Linked DNA regions of Homo sapiens: all the other regions are linked to region 2. The links are contacts of gene promoters, found by promoter capture Hi-C in blood cells and fetal thymus (Javierre and others, 2016). All regions are on one chromosome and are shown on one strand. Each heading gives the region's core, a stretch centred on a gene start or on the middle of the fragment in contact. The rest is flanking DNA. Distances are from core to core; before and after follow the strand shown.

Region 1 (4,125 bases), core at 755-3,254, 520 kb before region 2:
GCAACACATAAAATACATTAACACTAATAACAGCTGATGAGCTAAAAAAAATAAAAATTGCATAAACATCTCATGTTTTAAGAAAGTTCACGAACTTGTTTTGGGCTGCATTCAAAGCCATCCTGGGCAGTGGGTTGGACAAGCTTAGTTTAAGGTATGGCTGTGAGCCAGGACCAAGCTCCCCATCCCAACAGCCACCTTCCATGATGTCCCTCAGACACTCACCCTCCTTCCCTGGGTTCTGCCCCCACCATCTTCAGATGGCACTTCCCTCACATGTCTGGGACCCCTCCCCTCTGCCCTCCCTGACCAGACCCCAGATGCCTTCTTGGCCTCCCCACTGGCAACGCCATACACAAGCAAGCTAGAACAAGTCCTGGCTGGGCCCTCAGCTGCCACACCAAGAGCAGCCCCAGGTGTCCACTCGTGACTCAGCATGACCACTCATGACCCTCCCCAGATGCACCCTTCCTGCTCTTGTAGCAAGAAACTGTGAGTCCCAGCAGGGGCTTCCCAGGCATACCCATCACTGGGACCCTCCCCTGCTGAGCCTGCTTGCCTGACATTTCCAGGCTGCTCATCCAGCCTGAGGGACTGGATGATTCTCACCAGTCGCCACAGGGGAGCAGCCTCAACAACCTGTGAACACAGAGGAACTCAATCCCTTCCTCCTTTCACCCGGTGTCCCCTTTCTTCCCCTCTCTGTTGCCACCCTCCCCTCCTCAGTTAGGTGCTAGGCTCTTCCCAATAGCCCCAGGCATCCCAGCTGGTCTTCTTTACCCTCAAGCCATAACTGCCCACACCTGGCTGAGTCCCTGCCCATTCCTCAGTCCAATTCATAGGCCCTGTCCACAGCCCAGGACGCCAACAACGTCAGGTCCAGTGACATGACCAACCTGGGACATCCCAGACTCTTGATCTTTCCCCTGAAGGAAACCTGCTTTCCTTTCAATTCTCCTTTCTATCTACAGCAGCTCTCTTCTTCCAGGCGCTCAGGCTGAACAACATGGGGTACTTAGTTCTTCAAACAGCCCACACCTGATGCATCCGCAGATCCACCAGAATTCACCTGGTCGCCCACCTCCACTGCTGCCCAGACTGTGGCAGTCGGTTCTTCCCTTCATGCCGACACCCCTGCATGTCTGTTCTCCACGCAACAAACGGTGGAACCGTTTTAAAGTCCTCAGAGGATGTCCTGATTCTGTTCAAAACTTCTATGTCTCCCGACGCCCTCGAGATAAAGCCCACTCCCTCGCCTGATACTGCAGCCGCACACATCCCCTCTACTCCAGCTCCACATCGAGAGAGCTCAGTCCCAGAAGCACCTGGGCTTCGGCTCCCCTCCCAGGTTTTGCACACGCAGGACTCTCCCCTCGGAGCCTCCTTCGGGACCTCAGCCCCCTGGCTGCCCGAACTCGGGAGCTCACCAGTGCCCTGGACGCAGGAGTTTGCACTGACCCCCGCAACCCCCCCAGGGCAGGGAGAGGAAAGACGACTAGGCGAGGTCTAGGAAGCGGCCTCCCTCCGTGAGGGCGCGGTCTGTGTGAGCAGGGACTCCCCTGCTTCCCCGACGCGGGCTTGTCAGCGCCACCGCCGCCAGCGGAACCCGCAGCTGGGAGGGAAGAAAGGCGTGGACCACCCAGCCTTTCCCCGCCAGCAGCGTCCCGGGGCCGCCCCGCGCCTCAGTCTCCCCGGCCATCATGGACGTGGAACGCCCAGCGCGCAGCCTCCTGGGCTGCCGCACGGTGGGAGAGCGCATGGCTCCCGCCGCGGCCCGACAGTCCCCTGGACGCCCACGACGCACTCTGAGAAACAGAGGCTTGGGGGCGCGGCCGGCGGCCGGCGCCCTTGATCACGACGCGTGCGCAGGGCGGGCCCGACGCGGGCCCTCAGCCAGTACCTTCCTCGCCGCCAGCCTCGAGCACCAGGAACCCCCTGGAAACCGGACCCGACCCGCGGTCCCCAGCCCAGACCACCGGTGTGGCCTGACGCGGGCGGCGAAGTGACAGTCCCACCGCCGGAAGTCCAGCCCTTCGGTTCTCATTGGCCCAGTGCGCGCCGCGGACGCTTGCGTACAGCCTTCCGGGTCACGTGGTTCCCGCCTGTTTCCCTGCGTGGAGGCGGGGCCACTACCGGTCTCCTTGGCAACGTCCAAGCCCCTGCCGCGCGGGGCGCTGGGAAATGGAGTCGCGCGGCGGCCTCGGGTTTTCAAGGGCTTGGTGGCGCTGGTGGATTCGCCCGGTGTGTAGTCCTGCCTTCGGCATTCCAGGTGTCCTCCCAAGCAGTCCCGGAGACTAAACCCTGCAGGTGCGAAAGCAGAAACTGCCGAGGTTCCAAGAGGCAACACCAGCAGTGAGCACGGAGGAGAAAATGCACCGGGTAGCGCAGGTGGAGGTGGAGGAGCCGATGCCTGGAGCTCCGGGTTCCCTTCCCAGCTCTGCCTCTCACTGACTGTGCGTCCTGGGCGCGGGTTTGACCTCTCTGTGTCAATGTCCCGTAAAGGTTTAAGGTCCGTTTTCAACCTTTACACCAAGAATTCTCAGCCCGTAAGCCTACATTTGTCTTAAGTATGAGACTGTTCCTCGACACTTGCCCAAAGCATCTGTTTTCCTTGTAATTTGGATGGGCAGAAGTTAATTCCCCAGATTTGCTTGTCCTTAGACCATCTAGATCTTGTCTTGCCCCACACATCACAATATTCATTCTTTTTTCCTTTTTTCTTGGGACTCATTTAAGTTTTTTTTTTTTTTTTTTAACAGGGTCTTTGTTCTGTTGCCCGTGCTGGAGTGCAGTGGCACAATCTCGGCTCACTGCAACCTCTGCCTTCAGGTTCAAGTGATCCCCCCGCCTCAGCCTCCGTAGTAGCTGGGACCACAGGTGTGCGCCACCATGCCTGGCTAATTTTTGTATTTTTTAGTAGAGATGGAGTTTCACCATGTTGGCCAGGCTGGTCTTGAACTCCTGACCTCAGGTGATCCGCCCACCTCGTTCTCCCAAAGTGCTGGGATTACAGGCCAATTTAAGTGTCTTTGACACATAAAAACGAAAGGCAGAGCAGTCTCAATGTAGACTGTCTTGTTTGGCAGATAATAAAAGGTTCTTTGTCTTGTTTTTGGAACCTGTAGACAGTTCTCAGCTGTCCAGTTCCTTAACTCTTTTTGCCTCCCTCCCTCTATACCTACCTCCATCTATAACTATCTCTCTGTCAACTGTCAGCTATAACTGTCCACCTAATTGATTCTACTTGTAAATCCTTGTAGAGCAAGGGAGCTCATCATGTTTGGAATGTTTTAATATAAATTTTGCTACTTTGAAAGAATTTAAGAACATTTCAGGACTGGGCGCAGTGGCTCACACCTGGAATCTGAGCACTTTGGGTGGCCAAGGTGAGCGATCACTGGAGCCTAGGAGTTTGAGACCAGCCTGAGCAACAAAATGTGACCCCATCTTTATAAAAAAATATAAAAATTAGCTGAGCATGGTCTTGCATGCCTGTAATACCAGCTACATGGGAGGCTGAGGTGGGAGGATTGAGTTCAGGAGTTGGAGTGTGCAGTGAGCTATGATGGAGCCCCTGCACTCCAGCCTGGGTAAGAGAGAGACCCTGTCTCAGGAAAAAACAAACAAAAACCCTGAGGGGGAAAAAAAAAACCCCAACACTTAGAAGTATTAAAGTTCAGGGCCGGGCGCGGTGGCTCACGCCTGTAATCCCAGCACTTTGGGAGGCCGAGGCGGGTGGATCATGAGGTCAGGAGATCGAGACCATCCTGGCTAACAAGGTGAAACCCCATCTCTACTAAAAATACAAAAAATTAGCCGGGCGCGGTGGCGGGCGCCTGTAGTCCCAGCTACTGGGGAGGCTGAGGCGGGAGAATGGCGTGAACCCGGGAAGCGGAGCTTGCAGTGAGCCGAGATTGCGCCACTGCAGTCCGCAGTCCGGCCTGGGCGACAGAGCGAGACTCCGTTTCAAAAAAAAAAAAAAAAAAAAAAGGAAGTATTAAAGTTCAAAAACCCTGAAGAAAAAAAACCCCAACACTTAGAACTATTCAAGCTGTGGCCGGGCGCTGTGGCTCACGCCGGTAATCCCAGCACTTTGGGAGGCCGAGGTGGGCGGATCTTGAGGTC
Region 2 (4,085 bases), core at 733-3,232:
CCCTCTTTGGGGTTCTGCTGTTCTTGGTGTCTCCGAGCTTTCCGGCGCCACCATTTTTCCCTCGTCTAGATGCTGGTGCCTGCAGCAGAAGCCGCCTGCAGTATGTCTGGTCCAGTCGCAGACTTGCAAGGAGCCGGCGCCTGTGCCAGCGCCTGGAGCTGCCCGCCCCGCCGCAGCAGCCAGCGTGCCTGGCTGTGTGCACTGGCTGGACCCTTCACTTGCTCGCTCACACACCCCTTGCGGCTCCGCGCCTGGCTCGCCCTTGGTAGGTGTGGGATCCAGGTGCAGCCTGCTGGGCCGAGTGGGTGGAACAAGCCCAGCGGGTGTGAGCAAAACTCAAGCAGAGGCGCGACCACAGAGGTTTCTGGCTGGCGAAGCGACACCCATTATTAGTAGCTTTCTGTAATTTGTATTTTACAATTCTTTTTCTGATATCGTATCAATTTTTTATGCAGAACAGCCCTATAATAATGGGGGCAAAGGGCCGGGCACAGTGGCTCACGCCTGTAATCCCAGCACTTTGGGAGGCCGAGGTGGGTGGATCACCTGAGGTCAGGAGTTCGAGACCAGCCTGGCCAATATGGCGAAACTCCGTCTCTACTAAAAATACAAATACAAAAAAAAAAAAAAAAAAAAAAGATTAGCCGGGTACGGTGGCGGGCGCCTGTAATTCCAGCTACTTGGGAAGCTGAGGCAGGAGAATCGCTTGAACCCGGGAGACAGAGGTTGTGGTGAGCCGAGATCGCACCATTGCACTCCAGCCTGGGCAACAAGAGCGTAACTAATGGGGGCAAAGATAATCATTTCAGCGTTGAGAAGAGATCTTGAATTTAAGATACACCCTACATTTGGGATTCAGAGCACCCTTTGTTCCACCTGTTAATGCTCTAGCTAGCCATCATGCCTTTTCAAAATACCATTCCTTTTGTTGTTCTCTTTCTGAGCTTGATGTCAAATTATTAAAAAGAAGTGAATATAAAGGCATGGAGAAAGTGAGATTAGATTCATGCAAGTGTTGCTTAGTGAATTGGACACAATGTTTGACTACACAGGCACGAGAGGGACCCAGAGACAGGGATCTACTTATGTCCTGCTGCTGCAGGGTGCCTCCGCATCCCACCTTCATCCTCTTTGTCATGAACCTGTGTGGAGTGTTTTTTTTCTTGTCCCTAATCAAACATACAGAGACTGAGAAAACTGACTCCAGTGCTTGAGTGCATGCGTTTGAATTGCAACATAGTCTTTTTTTTTTTTTTTTTTTTTTTTTTTTTTTGAGACAGTGGCTCGCTCTTTCCCCCAGGCTGGAGTGCAGTGGCGCGATCTCGGCTCACTGCAAGCTCTGCCTCCCGGGTTCAAGCTATTTTCCTGCCTCAGCCTCCGGAGTAGCTGGGGACTACAGGCGCCCGCCACCACACCCAGCTAATTTTTCTTTTTTTTTTTTTTTTTGTGGTATTTTTTGTATTTTAGAGACGGGGTTTCGCTGAGTTAGCCAGGATGGTCTCGATCTCCTGACCTCGTGATCCGCCCGCCTCGACCTCCCAAAGTGCTGGAATTACAGGCGTGAGCCACCGCGCCCGGCCGCAACATAGTCATATTTATTTGCTTTCTCAACCAGTGGATATATTTTGTGACTGACTGACTGTATGTAATAATATGTGCATCTGGATATGTGCCTCTGGGAACACATGAAATGACACGTCTCCAAACAAACACTGGCAGACAGCAATCGGTAGAAACCTGGGTACGTCTCCTTTAAGAAAGAACGAAGCCTCGCCTCCGCCCCAACCTGGAGTGTCCATTTCCCAGCGCCCCCTACAGGGGTTTGGCCTTTACTTCCGGAAGGAGGTGGAGGCGACCCTCACTCTCCCGCCGTGCGCCTGTGGGAACATTACCCAGAATGGCCTGCGTTGGGCGACGGCGACCTTCAGCCAATGAGGCCTCCGAAAGGTGGTGTTTCCGTAAGCGCACGCGCGGTCGCGGCGGGACTTCCGTTGTCCTCCTTGTGGCGGTCGTTTTGGCATTTGTCTGGACTGATTACTTGGTAGAAAGCCCCGGAGCGCTGGGTCAGCATCATCCGTGACTGACTGAGAAGGCGCGAGAGGAGTCTTCCCCGCTGCACAGAGGCGTGGCTGAGGCTCGGCGGCGCCCAGGGTACCCAGGCCCGGCCCGGAATAAGGACATCCTCTCTGGCCCCGCTCCGCTCACAGAGTCAGATGGCGGCGGCCGAGCTGACGGCCCCGGCCCAGGTATGTGCCGCGTCCTCTGGGCCTTCCCCGCCCTCCCCACGCTAGTCCTAGCACCCCCGAGGGCGCTTGCTCGCGGCCCTGCTGCCCAGGACAGGACACGGGGGCTCGCCGGAGGGGCTCCCGTTTCCAACACCTGGTGTGCTAGGGAAGGGAGGGCGCGACTGGCAAGGAGCCCCTGATGAGAGGCGCCACTGAGCCCTGGGGCACAGAGGTGACACAGCCATTGCGAGGGCACCCGGCTCCAAGGCCAGGCATGGGGCTACGGGGTGGCTTGAGCCCATCTAATACCGCCATAGATGCTCTTCTCTGAGGCCTGGCTCTTTCTACGTTTCCCTTGGCTGTAAAGGGTTATGAAATCTACGCCAGGAAGGGGAGGGTTTCCCAGTCTCTCACTAGCCCTAACTCCCACCCACAGGTTCTCTGGGTTGTGGAGTGCCATTCCCCCAGCCCTTAGTTCTGAAGACCTTGGGTGAACCCCAAGCCCAGGGTCCTATGTCCATGTTAGCCGGTATATAGAGTTGTTCCAATTTCTGGCAGCCATGTGAACGGGTGTGGAAAGTTTTTCCAGAAAGGTACAAGATGTGCAAATGCTTAGGTGCAGTACGGAGCTGGGTGCATTTATGAAGCCACAAGTCTCCTTGCTTTCTGGTGGGAAGCAAAGAACAGGAGGATAGGCGTCAGGACTGCAGTGGCTGCCTGAGAAGTTGAGTGTGTTTTCAGGAGGTAATAGCAAGTTTGAATCAGAAAAAAGAGGTAATTTACCAAGGTCTTCACAGGCTTCATCTGTGTGCACAGTGGGGCACAAACTGGGGGGTTGAGGGAGGAGGAAGGAAAATCAGGGTAGACTAGTCCAAGTGAGGGTTACTGGCCCAGGATCGTGATTTAGGAGATGTGGTTAGATTCCGGATGTGTGGTTTCAAAAGGGACAACTAAATTACATAATGTAGGTGGTGAGGGAGTGAAACAGAGGGTTCAGAGAAGACTCCAGGGTTTTTGGTATTAGCAGCTGTAGGGAAAGAAGTTTCATCAACTAAGATGAACAAATTGGCAATAGGAGTAATATTCACTAGGGATATCAGGTTTGTTTATGCCATGCTAAGAGTCAGATCTTTCAGAGCCTACTAAATGGAGGCGTTAAGTGGGCAGATGAACGTGCCGGTCTTGAAATCTAGGGAGTGGTTCAGGGTGCAGATATTCAAGATGTGGCTGTTGTGCGCACCAAGGTTAGTGAGCTGTGGGTCACAGTTAGGCGGGGCAAGCTCCAGGTTTTGGTTGTAAAGCTGTTAGTGGGCCAAGACTGGGAGGATGATGATAGAGTAAGTGGTCATGAAGGCAAGGTATGTAAAAGACAGTGTAGTTTGGCAGTGGCCACGGCTCCCAAGAGAAGAATGGACATGAGATGGATGCAAACGCATAGGACACTCAGGCCAAAACTCGTGCTTATTCACCACTTTATGGGTATCCAGGATTTTGTGATAACTTGATGGGGCCTGGGTGTTTCATTCAGGCTGGAAGATTAAGTTAGTGTCATGTGGTCATTTGTGAGAGTCATTGTGTGTGAGATGAACGACCAGTGAGGCTGGGATTTAAATGAGCTTTAGGTGGATATATGACTCTCAAGGGGATGGTAAGTGCAGCACAGAAGTGGAATAGGGCCATGGTTATCTGTGATTCACCTGTGGTTCTGTGTGGCTATGTCTGAGGCAAGGAATACAGCCTGGCAGGGAGGCCTTCAAAGAAATTTTTGAGGCTGCTTCCACTAGTGTAAGCTGTGGGAAGTCTGGGATTTTGGATCCTGTTTATATCCACACTCTGGATGCTGCCTGCCAAGTTGCGGTA
Region 3 (3,770 bases), core at 616-3,115, 560 kb before region 2:
GGTGGTGCCGGGCTGGGGCTGGGGCTGGTTAGACCACTTCTGAGAACTGGACTATTTCCTGCGTAAACCGGGCGCTCAGGCGCTTGGACCCGGCCCAAGATTTGACTCCGGTTCTCACCCCGCCCTCTCCTGGGGTGGTGGTGGGGGCTGGGGGGCCGCTTGCCTGCCCCAGGGTCAGGCTGGGCAAGGTCCCTAGCTCTCTACCCAAGCTGTTACTCCCTCATGGGGCGCCTAAGGAGACTCAAGTGGACCCATCATATATGGGGGCTGGGCCTCGGGACTCTCGCTCTAATAAAGGACTGTAGGCCATGGGGCCTAAACCACGAAGCTGTGAGCACCTGGATCAGTGCGTGCCTTGCCCTCATAGACAAGATGTGAGTGTCAGGGTTCAGCGTCCCTGTTCTTGGGTGGCATCCATGCGGCCCACAGGCTGTCCTGGGCAGGAACAGGATGGTCCACTTTGCCATCTAGGACCTCTATTCTGTAGGGGCTAAGGTGGGCTGCATATATAACCAGCACTTGGTTCTCTTGGATCCCTCAGTCCTGTGGGGAGTAGGATAGGCAGGCCACATCTGAGGTGGGTCTCCGAGAGGGAGGCCACGTGAAAGCCCCATCATACTCCTGGTTGCTGCTGTCCACGACCTTTAAGGCCCCTCCCATAGATCTTCCAGTCAGGCTCTAAGGGTCTTTTGGACTTAAGACTTCCCCTCCCCGACCTTGATGGACATGGCTGAGCACCTTACTTGTGGGGAGCCCAGGGGGATCTTTGGGGCCAGGTTGCACTGAGGGTATATAAGCCCCCATATATCTGCCCTTGGTGCTGGGGGCAAAGTTCAGGGAGGGCTCCGATGGCCGTGTTGGGGGCAGGAAACAGTGAGGGGTGGGATCCTGGGGCTGACTGCTGGGCGGTTGGGGACACCACCCCTACTGGCCAGCCAGTGTCCCAGGCCCCTGCATCCAGCGGAGAGAGCAGCCACTCTTTGCCCCTCTCCTCTTCAGCACAATAGTGGCTCCTAGCCTAGGTGCCCTGCCATAAGGATTTGGAGCTGGTGGAGTGGGGTATGGCCCCAGGCCATACCCCAGCCTGACCTGCCAGGCTCCTAGGCCAATGGCAGCTCCTCTGGGTTCACCTTCTGAGACTGCTTCCTCAAGGTGAGAGGCCAGGGCTTTCATGATCCAACTGTGTGCATCATGGGCTGACTTCAGTCTCCTGAACCCCAGGACTCCATCGTCGTCAAAGCCAGAGGTGGAGCAGAGAGTCAGAGCAAGCACATGGGTGGGGGGCAGAGCTGGGTTTGAATCCAGGCGATGCCAGTGTTCCTGTATTTACTGAGCACTTGCTGTATGCCTGGCAGGAGGGTACGATTCCTCGGATCATGGGACAAGGGGCTTAGCCTGGCTGAGCCCCTCTCCTCAGGGTTTCAGTGGGTGTCACAGGAGGACCTCCCAATGAGGTCCACCTTGCTGTCCTGTTGCTTTTCTGTTTGGCCTGATTGGAGTGTTCCCAAGGGCAGGGATTTCTGTGCTCTGAGTGTCTGGTACCCAGCAGGGATGGGAGGGGAGGCAAGGGAGTTAGATGCCAGCCCTGGAGGGTGGATGGGGCAAGCAGGACAGCAGGAAGGAGGCTAGTGGTGCCCAAGGGGCAGAGACCTGGGAACCCAGAGGCCAGTGATGGAAAGGGTTAGCGCCAGGCAGAGAGGGGCTGGACCCACACACAAGACCAGGCAGAGCAAACAAACGTAGAGGAGAAGGGCTGGGGGCAAAGTCCTGGGGAGAGGACCAGCCACTGTCAGCAGTGCCAGGGCCACCACCCCTGGGGAGGAGCCATTGGGCTACTCTTGAGGGGCCAGAGGTGAGCCTGAACACTCCACAGCTGCTGCTCCTAGGGAGGAGCTGGTACCATGGGTGTCAGGCAACAGTTGGCCTTGCTGCTGCTGCTGCTGCTCCTGCTCTGGGGCCTGGGGCAGCCAGTGTGGCCAGTCGCTGTGGCCTTGACCCTGCGCTGGCTCCTGGGGGATCCCACATGTTGCGTGCTACTTGGGCTGGCCATGTTAGCACGGCCCTGGCTCGGCCCCTGGGTGCCCCATGGGCTGAGCCTGGCAGCTGCGGCCCTGGCACTAACCCTCCTGCCAGCACGGCTGCCCCCAGGACTACGCTGGCTGCCGGCTGATGTGATCTTCTTGGCCAAGATCCTCCACCTGGGCCTGAAGATCAGGGGATGCTTGAGCCGGCAGCCGCCTGACACCTTTGTAGATGCCTTCGAGCGGCGAGCACGAGCGCAGCCTGGCAGGGCACTCTTGGTGTGGACGGGGCCTGGGGCCGGCTCAGTCACCTTTGGTGAGCTGGATGCCCGGGCCTGCCAGGCGGCATGGGCCCTGAAGGCTGAGCTGGGTGACCCTGCGAGCCTGTGTGCCGGGGAGCCTACTGCCCTCCTTGTGCTGGCTTCCCAGGCCGTTCCAGCCCTGTGTATGTGGCTGGGGCTGGCCAAGCTGGGCTGCCCAACAGCCTGGATCAACCCGCATGGCCGGGGGATGCCCCTGGCGCACTCTGTGCTGAGCTCTGGGGCCCGGGTGCTGGTGGTGGACCCAGGTGAGGGCCTTGGAGCCAGTGGAGAATGGAAGGGGGCAAGGGCAGGGACTATAGGACAGGGGTTCTGCTGGGACTGGCAGAGGCCCTTGGTCCCCACCTGCCTACTTTCACAGGCAATTATAATCAAGACTTATGAGCAGAAAGTAGTTCTCAGGTCATCAGAGTTTAATTTTCCCACAATTTGACCAAAAATACTAATGATGGGATTCTTTACCAAACAACATGGATGCTTTTCTCTACTAGCTGCTCCTCTGCCTGCATCTGTGGGTCTCAGATCCCGCCTCGCAACCTCAAAGGTGAGCCTTGCCTCTGTTTCTCCTCTGACCCATCTCTGCAGACCTCCGGGAGAGCCTGGAGGAGATCCTTCCCAAGCTGCAGGCTGAGAACATCCGCTGCTTCTACCTCAGCCATACCTCCCCTACACCAGGGGTGGGGGCTCTGGGGGCTGCCCTGGATGCAGCGCCCTCCCACCCAGTGCCTGCTGACCTGCGTGCTGGGATCACATGGAGAAGCCCTGCCCTCTTCATCTATACCTCGGGGACCACTGGTGAGGGTGCCCATTAGCCCTAGCACCAGCCTCTGAACTCTCAGGCTGACCTGACCCCACACTTGACTTGTGACTCAGTGTTGACCTCTGAAACCACTTTACCCTCTGATTTTGACATTTGTTTTTTGTTTGGCTGTTTTTTTTTTCGAGGCAGAGTCTCGCTCTGTCGCCTAGGCTGGACTGCAGTGGTGCAATCTCGGCTCACTGCAACCTCCACCTCCTGGGTTCAAGCAATTCTCTTGCCTCAGCCTCCTGAGTAGCTGGGATTACAGGCACACACCACTATGCCCAGCTAATTTTTGTATTTTTGGTAGAGACAGGGTTTCCCCAAGTTAGCCAGGCTGGTCTCTAACCCCTGACCTCAGGGGACCTGCCCAACTCAGCCTCTCAAAATGCTGGGATTACAGGCGTGAGCCACTGCTCCCAGACTTGATTTTGATATTTGGCCTGAACTCTGACCCCCAATGTAATTTGAGAGGTCAATGCCAGAATTCTTCCTGTGTCCAGTAAACAGCCACTGAAACCTTTGATCTTGACATATTACTTTCAGTCCAAATTCAGCCTGTGAACCCAACCACAAATCCCTATACTTGACTGTTCTCTGAGAGCCTCAAACCCCAATGTAGGCCTGGCT

What was found. The method cuts DNA at HindIII sites, captures the fragments that hold promoters and counts their contacts. A CHiCAGO score of 5 or more calls a contact.
Region 1: a contact is called between the fragment with the promoter of ZNF324 here and the fragment with the promoter of ZNF256 in region 2, in 2 of 17 cell types (total B cells and neutrophils). The highest score is 8.4, in total B cells.
Region 3: a contact is called between the fragment with the promoter of SLC27A5 here and the fragment with the promoter of ZNF256 in region 2, in 1 of 17 cell types (neutrophils). The highest score is 5.1, in neutrophils.

Annotation. Positions count from the first base shown.
Region 1 is chr19:58,464,959-58,469,083 of GRCh38, reverse strand. ZNF324 (zinc finger protein 324) reads right to left here and starts at 2,004. Exons shown (of 4, transcript NM_014347.3): 1 at 1,901-2,004. RefSeq lists enhancers at 504-623, 1,042-1,656, 1,657-2,273 and silencers at 1,755-1,884, 1,965-2,014. The HindIII fragment of the contact is 6,014 bases long and covers 146-4,125 here.
Region 2 is chr19:57,945,603-57,949,687 of GRCh38, reverse strand. ZNF256 (zinc finger protein 256) reads left to right here and starts at 1,982. Exons shown (of 3, transcript NM_005773.3): 1 at 1,982-2,246. The coding sequence starts at 2,214. RefSeq lists enhancers at 1,744-1,833, 1,904-2,003, 2,494-2,573. The HindIII fragment of the contact is 12,388 bases long and covers 1-4,085 here.
Region 3 is chr19:58,510,087-58,513,856 of GRCh38, reverse strand. SLC27A5 (solute carrier family 27 member 5) reads left to right here and starts at 1,865. Exons shown (of 10, transcript NM_012254.3): 1 at 1,865-2,589; 2 at 2,927-3,136. The coding sequence starts at 1,902. It overlaps LOC105372485 (a long non-coding RNA gene), which reads right to left. Exons shown (of 2, transcript XR_001754024.2): 2 at 2,734-3,770. It overlaps ZBTB45 (zinc finger and BTB domain containing 45), which reads left to right. Exons shown (of 3, transcript NM_001316979.2): 3 at 1-327. RefSeq lists an enhancer at 1,648-2,162. The HindIII fragment of the contact is 7,866 bases long and covers 1-3,770 here.